Regions from separate parts of the Homo sapiens genome. Here regions 2 and 3 are each linked to region 1. The links are contacts of gene promoters, found by promoter capture Hi-C in blood cells and fetal thymus (Javierre and others, 2016). All regions are on one chromosome and are shown on one strand. Each heading gives the region's core, a stretch centred on a gene start or on the middle of the fragment in contact. The rest is flanking DNA. Distances are from core to core; before and after follow the strand shown. Region 1 holds the start of SRL (sarcalumenin). Region 2 overlaps ADCY9 (adenylate cyclase 9). Region 3 has its middle 1.9 kb from the start of TRIDDENT.

Region 1 (3,000 bases), core at 98-2,597:
CAGCTGGGGCTGGGGGGCAGCACAGGAGCGGCCACGAAGGGAGAGGGTGGCAGCGGCTTGGGGCTCCGGATCCAATTACGCGGCTGTTTCCATACTTAGCCGCCTGACAGCCGCCTGGAATACTCAGCACTCAAGCCGCTGCAGCCCTGCAGAGCCCAAATTAACTCAAGGACAGACAAGGGCAGGGCCCAGCAGCACATGCAGTGGCTGGAGCCCCCCACCTTACATCTTGAGTCCCCGAGAAATAGCTTTTGTTCCCACCCACTGCCTGCTCTCCCTGCAGGGACTGTGCCCCTGCAACCCCCTATTCAACCTCAAAGACCTGAGAGGCTGGACTCTGGGCCTCTCCAGTCCCAGGTACGGACCTAGGCTCAGAGCCCAGCTTGGGGGAAGACTGCCGAGTCATGAAAAGACTCGGTGGGCAGTCCGGATCCTAGGGGGATCCCCGGAGCACCTCCCTAAAAGCATTCCCTCGGGGAACCTGGCCTCAGGAACCTTAGGAACAAGAGAGGTGGCAAAACAATCTGGCATCTCCTCCATAGCCTATAGATAACCCCCATGCTGCAACCCAAGCCACCACCTCTGCTACCCAAAGTGCTGAGATGTCAAAGGGAAGCCTCAGCACACAGAGCCAAGCCCCTTTTCTGATGGAAGCCCCCACCCCGAGCAGAGGCTCTACTCCAGAACGGGCCCCGTTCCTCTTCTGAATTGCATCCAATGCTGTTTCCAGCCCAACCGCCAACTCTATTTCCGATCTTATCCCAAACCAATTCCAATTCTATCTCACTGCTCCCAAAACGGTCCCCACCTTTGCCCACTGTATCCCCTTCTGTCCACGCAAACCCAGTTCTCTTACCCGAGTGGGGCCTCCGCCTTATATCCCACCAGGTGGGAGGGTCACCTCAACGACCTCCAGCTCCCAGACTGTGCTATTTTGTCCGTCTCAGAGGCTCCCCCGTCTCGACTTTGAGGGCCCTCTTTCCCACATCTACTGGCCAGACTCCTCTCTGACCCTGGCTCACAGCTCAGCTCTGTTTGCCGTTCCCACTTCCTCTGGCCTTCCTGAGGGCCCCGCAACTGTGCTGCTATTCTCCAGCACCCAGCTCTTTCTCTGAGGCCCCAGGCCCGGGGAAAAGAGAAGGGTAAGAAGACACCAGCCAAGAGCCAGGGTTTGCCATCAGCCCCGACCCCCTACCCAACCCATGGTAGACAGAAAACCTTGGAGGAAGCGTGGGGGACCAGTCTGGGCTGGGTCATGCTGGGAGGGGCCCTACCTGCTTGTCCTGAGAACAGGAGCGAGGCCAGGAGGCAGCCGAGCAGGACCAGCGCCCTCATGGTGACTGCCAAGAGAGCCCAGCTGCTCCTCGCCTCTATTTATACGGCCGGCCGTGGCAGCAGGCGGTGGAGGGGGGAGAGGGGTCACACAGTCACCAGGGCAACTAGGAGGGTGTGATGGGGAAGAAGCCCGGACCCCAGAAGGCTGTGCAGAGGCTCAGGCTGCGCCACTGCTGTCCCAGCTGCCAGGCCCCAGAAGGCAGGGCCGTGGCTGGATTCTCTTCCCCCGAACCCCTGCAGCCCTGGGATCACATGACATGGGTCACAGGGCGTGGGTGACAGGCATAAAATGGAGCATCCCTTGGGCTCAGGCGGTGGAGCTGGGAAGCTGAGTCTTCCCAGAACTTGCAATAACTTGACCTGAAGTCTCGGCAGGTTAAGGACCTTGACACGCCTGCACTGGAAGGAGGAAGTTGTAAGGCCACGCAAAAGAAATCCTATTTAACAGCCACTGATCCACATGCTAGAGAGTGGTCAGCTACGGCAAACCCGCAACATGTGACCTCTGAGGTCCAAGGCTGCAGCCCTGGAACAACCTTCCCAGCCTCTGGAAGAGAGAGAGCACAGACCAGAGGGAGAGGGGCACACTGAGACACAAGCTGAGGCTACGGTGTAAACTGGAGGATGGAGCAACAGATATCCATTTCCAATGGCCCAGGGGTTCCAGAACATTCAGTCACCTCTGCAAAGTGCTTTTTTGTTTATTTGTTTTTGATAGAGGATCTCGCTCTGTCACCCAGGCTGGACTGCAGTGGCACAATCATCACTCACTGCACTCGACCTCCCAGGCTCAATCAATCCTCCCAACTCAGCCTCCCAAGTAGCTAGGACAGTAGTGCCACCATGCTGTACTAATTTTTTAAAATTTTTTGTAGATGGCCCAGAGAGCCAGTTGTAAGAAGCCAAGGGAAAGCAGACACTTGCTTGTCTGGTCGGGGTACAGTGTCACTGTGTGGGGAAGAGGTAGAAGCCAGCCTTGGAGGAAAGGAACTAAATCAGGGCCAGGCACAGTGGCTCACACCTGTAATCCCAGCACTTTGGGAGGCCGAGGCGGGTGGATCACCTGAGGTCAGGAGATTGAGACCAGCCTGGCCAACATGGTGAAACCCCATCTCCACTAAAAATACAAAAATTACTGGGTGTGGTGGCGGGTGCCTATAATCCCAGCTCCTCAGGAGGCTGAGGCAGGAGAATCACTTGATCCCAGGAGGCGAAGGTTGCCATGAGCCAAGATTGCACCACTGACTCTAGCCTGGGCAACAGAGCGAGACTCTGTCTCAAAAAAAAAAAAAAAAAAAAAAAGAATTAGGCATCTGGTAGGCACTTGACTTTTTTTTTTTTTTTAATCTTTTTTAAGAGACAGGGTCTCTGTCACCCTGGCTGGAGTAGTGACACGATCATAGCTCACTGCAGCCTTGAACTCCTGGGCTCAAGCCACCCTCTCACCTCAACCTCCGAGGGGCTGGGAATACAGGTGTGCACCACATCTGGCTAATTTTTTTGTTTTTTGCAAACATGGTCTTCCTATGTCACTCGGGCTGGTCTCCAACTCCTGGGCTCAAGCAATCTTCCTGTCTCGACCTCCCAAAGCACTACGATTACAGGCATGAGCTACTGCTTTTTCAAAGACAAGGTCTTGGGACTTTTCCTCTTGGAAGTCCCCTC
Region 2 (3,320 bases), core at 805-3,304, 270 kb before region 1:
GCTAATGAATCTTTTTTTTATTTTATTTTATTTTTTGAGACAGAGTCTCACTCTGTCGCCCAGGCTGGAGTGCAGTGGCCGATCTTGGCTCACTGCAACCTCCGCTTCCCAGGTTCAAGCAATTCTCCTGCCTCAGCCTCCCAAGTGGCTAGGATTACAGGTGCCCACCACCACCCCAGCTAATTTTTGTATTTTTAGTAGAGACGGGGTTTTGCCATGTTGGCCAGGCTGGTCTTGAACTCCTGATCTCAGGTGATCCACCTGCCTTGGCCTCCCAAAGTGCTGGAATTACAGGCATGAGCCAACGTGCCTGGCCTTTTTTTTCTGAGACAGAGTCTTGCTGTGACAACCAGGCTGGGGTGCAAGGACACCATCACAGCTCAATGCAGCCTCAAATTCCCGGCCTCAAGCCCACCTTAGCTTCCCGAGTAGCTGGGACTACAGGTGCATACCACCATACCTGGCTAATTTTTACAATTTTTTGCCAAAACAGGATTTCGCTATGTTGCCCAGGCTGGTCTAGAACTCCAGGCCTCAAGTAATCTTCCTGCCTTGGCCTCCCAAAGTGCTGGGATTACAGGCGGGAGTCACCGAGCCCGGTCCTTTTCTGTGTGCTTTGATTTTCTCTCCCTTCCTCTCAAATCTGTCCATCTTTTCGTTGTGGTTCTATTTATTATTTGTAAGCCTGGAAAGTTATCTCAGTTTTAGAGGCTTGAAAACTATTGAATTTTACTTTTTCTAGATTTTATATAGTTTAATTTTTATTTCCGACTCTTCAATTTATTTAGAATTTATTCTGCTGTTTATAGTAAAGCAAGGGTCAAACATTTAGTATTTTGGATTTCAAGTCAGTTATTTTATTACTTTTTGAGACACAGTCTCATTCTGTCACCCAGGCTGGAGTGCAGTGGCACAATCTTGGCTCACTGCAAGCTCCGCCTCCCGGGTTCACGCCATTCTCCCGCCTCAGCCTCCTGAGTAGCTGGGACTACAGGCGCCCGCCACCATGCCCAGCTAATTTTTTGTATTTTGTTTAGTAGAGACGGGGTTTCACCGTGTTAGCCAGGATGGTCTCCATCTCCTGACCTCGTGATCCGCCCGCCTCGGCCTCCCAAAATGCTGGGATTACAGGCGTGAGCCACCGTGCCTGGCTGATTTCAAGTCGGTTATTTTAAAATATTTTACAAAATAACTTTTTTCTTTGATTTGCGAGATTTCCTTTGTTGCATGCGAAAGTCTTACATAAAATTACATGACTGTAATGTCTTATTAAAATAATAAAACTAATTTTATTTTCCCCATTAGACATTATAACTATGATACAGTTCAACGAGGAGATATTTTCCACTTTCTATTCTAAGAATGCACGTATTGTTCCTTTTATTCAAGATCCCATTGTTTTCAGGAAGCTTCGAAATGGGCAGGGTAATACAGTCACTCTCGTTTATTCAGACAGAAGTGCAATATTAAAAGCTTACCTGAAATTCTGTACTGCGTCAAGGGGCGAAGTTAATACAGAACTGAAATTAAAATGCAGAAAAATATTATCATAAAGAGCAAAGAAGGCATTCCACAAGGCAACCTGAGAAGAGCTTGAACAAACTATGTTCCTTTTTTAGACGTGGTTGTACATCCACATAAAGCCACCTGCTCCCACCTCTTTCTTCACATCTGTGTCTCCCAATGCTGGGGGCAGTTCCCTTGGTAAAGCTGAGTTTACGTCTTTGTTTACCATCCCGCATCCTCTCTATCCTGCTGAGGCTTAGCAACCGTGATGGGATTAGGGGCTCTGAGGCCTCAAGTGGATGGAGGAGTTCTGGGCCGAGTGGAACTTCAACCATCATCCCTACCCCAGATCTGCTATTTGAACTCTGGGCACAAAGGCGGCAGAGGGGTCCCCCATCACTGTGGCTCTCCAGCTCCAGGTAGAAAAGCCCCGCAGCCATGACTAAAGGCCACGGTGAATGCCCGATGAGGGACCTGTGATGGATTTAAAAGGTAAAAAGCAGTTTGCTGGATTTCATACTCTCGAGAAAGAGCTCATCGTGACCATCGTTCTAGATGGCCATACCTTCAGAAAAATCCAAGTCTGCTTTATTTTGCTTAATCTATTCATTAAAGTTTCCTTTCAAGTACTGAATGACAGTCCTATTTTAAATTCCCTTTTTGATCTTAATTTGCAGGGAATTTAAATGTCTTTTGTATTGTGATTCTTTTCTTAAGTAAACTGAGGACGGATGCTCACACTGCCCATGGCTGGACTGTTGCTTTGCTAATAACCAAAGACACCCCGTGCCTACTCCGTCTGATACTGACAATACTGCGGCAAATAGAATCATTTTGTGCTTTTGAATGAATTCAAGCAGAGGTCCTTGGCAACAGCAATGCCACTCCAACGGGGCATTTCGGAAATGCCAGGGGTCCCTCTGGTTCTCTTAATAACTCAGGGAGCCAGAATGTTAGATCTCCTGCAAGGACAAGGAAGAAATGTCCCATGTGACTTTAAAACATTCTGCGCACCTAAACCCTCTGTAATTGTAAACAGGCGGTTCTTCAATACACACTAATAGTGAAACATTTTTATAAGCAGTTATAGGAAAAGCCCAATATTTGGGAGAAATTTATTACATGAATGGAAGCTTAATGGGTTTAAGATATCACGAAATATTTGAATAAATTGTTCACTGCTTACATTCTGTTATACAAGGTATTACTGTATTTCCAACAACACATTTAGTTGAAAAGGCTTAAAATACCCTGAAACCAGTAGCAAATGTGTAATAGGCAATTTTGAGACTTATTTTTTATTTTTATTTTTGGAGACTGAGTCTTGCTCTGTCACCCAGGCTGGAGTGCAGTGGCGCGATCTCGGTTCACTGCAACCTCCGCCTCCCAGGGTCAACCAATTCTCCTGCCTCAGCCTCCTGAGTAGCTGGGACTACAGGTGCACACCGCCATGCCTGGCTAATTTTTTGTATTTTTAGTAGAGACAGGGTTTCACCGTGTTGCCCAGGCTGTCTTGAACTCCTGAGCTCAGACAATCCACCCGCTTCAGCCTCCCAAAAGTGGTAGGATTACAGGCGTGAGCACCAAGACCGGCTGGGACTTATTTTTAACAAATCAAGAATTATTCAGTTAGTGCAACACATGAAAGATAGGGATCTTACTGGATGTCGCTAATGGCAAATATTTTAAATATAGCACCTATCACTGCCATCCTGTAAGTTTTTACATTTTTTGTAGTACAATGATGAGAACTGGGCTTGTCCCCAGAGGTCTACCGGCCTCCCTGACTCCTGTTTCTGTGTCTGCGCCATCCC
Region 3 (3,324 bases), core at 462-2,961, 290 kb before region 1:
GAAGTCTGTGGCCGTCTGCCAACATCTCCTTCAAATATGAACATTCTTATTTTCGCTCTGGAAGTTTTTGTCAGGTTTATTGCAAATGCAAGGGTGGTGAGCAGACAGAAAGAAAATGGTATTTACTGAGCTGGAAGGACTGTTTTCTCAACCGTTTCTCAAGAGCACGCAAGGAGACGTGCACTTTCCTGGGTGACATCAGGTTCTCCGTGGGGATTTTAATCCAAATCAGATATGGCCTTGTTTTACGAGGGATCCTCTTGGGTCTCAGGGTGTGAGGATTCATAATAAGTACACGTCCATCCAGTACATGGCGAAGACCATTGTAAGCCACCCCTGGAAACACATACAAGACAGATGGGCACGCAGTTCACAGGATAGCGCAGAATTCTAATGAATTTCATTGGCATCAAATGTTATGTTCCTGTAAACTGAGAGCCATGAAATTAGAATGAGTGCCTCACAATAGTTCAAAAGTGACTCACTTCATTGAAAAAACGTCTCGGAAACATAAATTGGTAAATCAAAACTAAAACTAGTACCCTTTAAAAAAAACTGAGAATGATGTCCCTAAGTTTTTTTTTTTTTTTTTTTGAGACGGAGTTGCGCTCTTGTTGCCCAGGCTGGAGTGCAATGGCGTGATCTCGGCTCACTGCAACCTCCGCCTCTTGGGTTCAAGTGATTGTCCTGCCTCAGCCTCCCGAGTCACTGGGATTACAGGCACCCACCACCACTCCCAGCTAATTTTTGTTATTTTTAGTAAAGAGGGGGTTTCACCATGTTGGCCAGGCTGGTCTCAAACTCCTGGCCTCAAGCAGTCCTCCTGCCTTGGCTTCCCAAAGTGCTGGGATTACAGGCATGAGCCACCGTGCCCGGCTGGGATGACTATTTTAATCTCAAGAGAGCCATCTGGGTTCCTTCCAGGGCACAATTCTATTTAAGGATATACTTTCTTATTTTTACACAAGTTTGATAACTGGATAAAAAAAAGACGAACTTTTTTTTTTTTTTTTTTGCATGGACCAAAAAATGTAGCCATAAGAGCATTTGTTAATACGCACGTCTAACATCCTCCTTCCCACCTCCCTGTGCAGCACAAAGTGGTAAAGACAGCAAGAATTTTCTTTCTAAACAGTTGGGCTGAAATTAAACAACAACAACAACAAAAACCCAAATGCCCATTCTCCTCCCAGCGGAAGTACAACCTCTCTTTGTATCATGTTACTCATCCGCTGCACACACCTGTTCATCCAACAACAGCTAACAAAAGTCAGACTCCGAGTTAAGCGATGTACACATCACAGTTTGTGCTGGAAATCTGATCCAAGCACATGGACAGAACTTTCTATGGTTCTCGGCTCCTAAGCTTGGCAGCTTGTTTTCAGCGTATTCTTAAAAACCTAGGAAACTGGCAATCATACTTCTAAGTTAAAAGATTGGGAAATCAGGCCAGTGAATAAATACTTACTTTGGATCTGCACTATTGATGAAAAATAAAAAATCACTGGAAAAAAATGAGCCCCTTTCTTCTATTTTTGCTCAAAGCAGTCCAAAGAAAACAAGTTTTGGTTCACTGCTGTCTGTGAGCTCAGTGTTGAACAAATTCCAGCAAAATCACAGAGAAAGTTGGAACCAGATTTGCAGCGCTCTATCTCATACATGTTTCTTCTTCTTCTTTTTTTTTAAGAGACAGGGTCTCGCTCTGGTGCCCAGGCTGGAGTGCAATGGCACAATCACAGTTCACTGCAGCTTTGAACTCCTGGATTCAAGCGATCCTCCTGCCTCAGGCTTCTGAATAGCTGGGACCACAGGCACGCACCACCACCCCCAGGTGCCTTTTATATCATTTGTAGAGATGGGGTCTCACTATGTTGCCCAGGGTGGAGTGCAGTGGCATGATCATAGCTCACTGCAGCCTCCAACCCCTGTTGCCAAGGCTGGTTCCAAACTCCTGGGCTCAAGTGATCCTCCCACTGTGGTCTCCTAAAGCACTGGGATTATAGACGTGAACCACCACAGCTACCCCGTGGTTCTTAAAAAGGGGTCTCCTTAAAAAGGAAGCTTCACCTTCCTTTTTGGTGTGAGGGAGACAGACCGTCAGGGAGAGGGCACTTTGTTCTTCTAATTGCCTTTCTGCAGAGGTTCCTGCTCAAGGAACGGGACGCCTAAACCTCAAATCCCCAGTGGCATTCAAGGCTGCTCGCAGGCACAGGGCGTGTTCTGGCCAATCCTGTTCGAGCAAGGGGAGCTGACATTGGCCCAGCACAGGCAGGCTGCACAGAGCTGCAGCCCATTCTTCCTGGAAGCGCCTGCATCAGAGCCAAGGACAGGCCACCTAGTAGCAGTGTCCCTGGAGCCTGGTGCTTGGCTCAGTACATTAAAATGCAACAACCAGGCCGGGTACAGCAGTTCATGCCTGTAATCCCAGCATTTTGGGAGGCTGAGGTGGGCGGATCACTTGAGGTCAGGAGTTCGAGACCAGCCTGGCCAACATGGCGAAATCCCATCTCTACTAAAAATACAAAAATTAGCTGGGCGTGGTGGCCTGTGCCTATAGTCCCAGCTACTTGGGAGGCTGAGGCAGGAGAATCACTTGAACCTGGGAGGCAGAGGTTGCAGTGAGCCGAGATCGCGCCACTACACTCCAGCCTGGGCGACAGAGCGGGGCTCCATCTCAAAAAATATATACGTATTTCACAGATACAGTCCTTCCTCGTTTTGGTAATTGACAGAGCATAAGCAGTTTTTAATTTTTTCAAATTTACAATTAGGCTCCTGCACGGCAACTCTCTTCCTGTGAACTGAAGGGAAACTTGGAGTCTCCCTCTCCACAGGGTTCTCGTCTTCTGGAAAAGAGAAGATGGGAAAATGCGGATAAGAAGAGGGTTAGAGGGGAGGAAAGAAATAAAAACCGAGCAATTTCTAGAAAACATGATGATTAAAAAAAAACCATCCACGCTTTTGGAATGGACGGATTCTTTAACACCTGTGGATTTCCTTATTCTGTGACTAGCAAGCTCCCAAGCCCACAGGTAGGAAGCTTCAGCCAGTGTGTGTGGAAAAAACGCCGGTTTTGGGATACGACGGACAAGTCAGAAGCCTGCTTGAACCGCCGTCACCCCTTTGCAGCCATCCAACACCACGAACAGCAAAAACATCAGGTTCTGGCAACCTGTGGGGACAAAGTGACCATCAGCACGGGGAGGTCGCTGTCAGAGCCGCGTCACAGCTCTTACGCCTCCCAGAATGGTTTTTGGTGTGAGGATTGCTGCATGGATTGAGAAGGTGGAATTTGATTGGAATAACTGGATCATCTCACGGATG

The links. Contacts are between HindIII fragments. The CHiCAGO score rates a contact against its expected background, and 5 or more counts as called.
Region 2: a contact is called between a fragment that was not itself captured here and the fragment with the promoter of SRL in region 1, in 5 of 17 cell types (M0 macrophages, endothelial precursors, M1 macrophages and 2 more). The highest score is 11.7, in M0 macrophages.
Region 3: a contact is called between a fragment that was not itself captured here and the fragment with the promoter of SRL in region 1, in 1 of 17 cell types (M0 macrophages). The highest score is 5.6, in M0 macrophages.

What each region holds. Positions count from the first base shown.
Region 1 is chr16:4,240,733-4,243,732 of GRCh38, forward strand. It overlaps SRL (sarcalumenin), which reads right to left and starts at 1,348. Exons shown (of 6, transcript NM_001098814.2): 1 at 1,275-1,348. The coding sequence starts at 1,335. The HindIII fragment of the contact is 10,843 bases long and covers 1-3,000 here.
Region 2 is chr16:3,973,191-3,976,510 of GRCh38, forward strand. It overlaps ADCY9 (adenylate cyclase 9), which reads right to left. Exons shown (of 11, transcript NM_001116.4): 10 at 1,479-1,520. Among named protein-coding and RNA genes, the nearest start is that of TRIDDENT, 24 kb to the left of the region's middle. The HindIII fragment of the contact is 1,166 bases long and covers 1,472-2,637 here.
Region 3 is chr16:3,950,671-3,953,994 of GRCh38, forward strand. It overlaps a transcript of ADCY9 not described here. Among named protein-coding and RNA genes, the nearest start is that of TRIDDENT, 1.9 kb to the left of the region's middle. The HindIII fragment of the contact is 695 bases long and covers 1,365-2,059 here.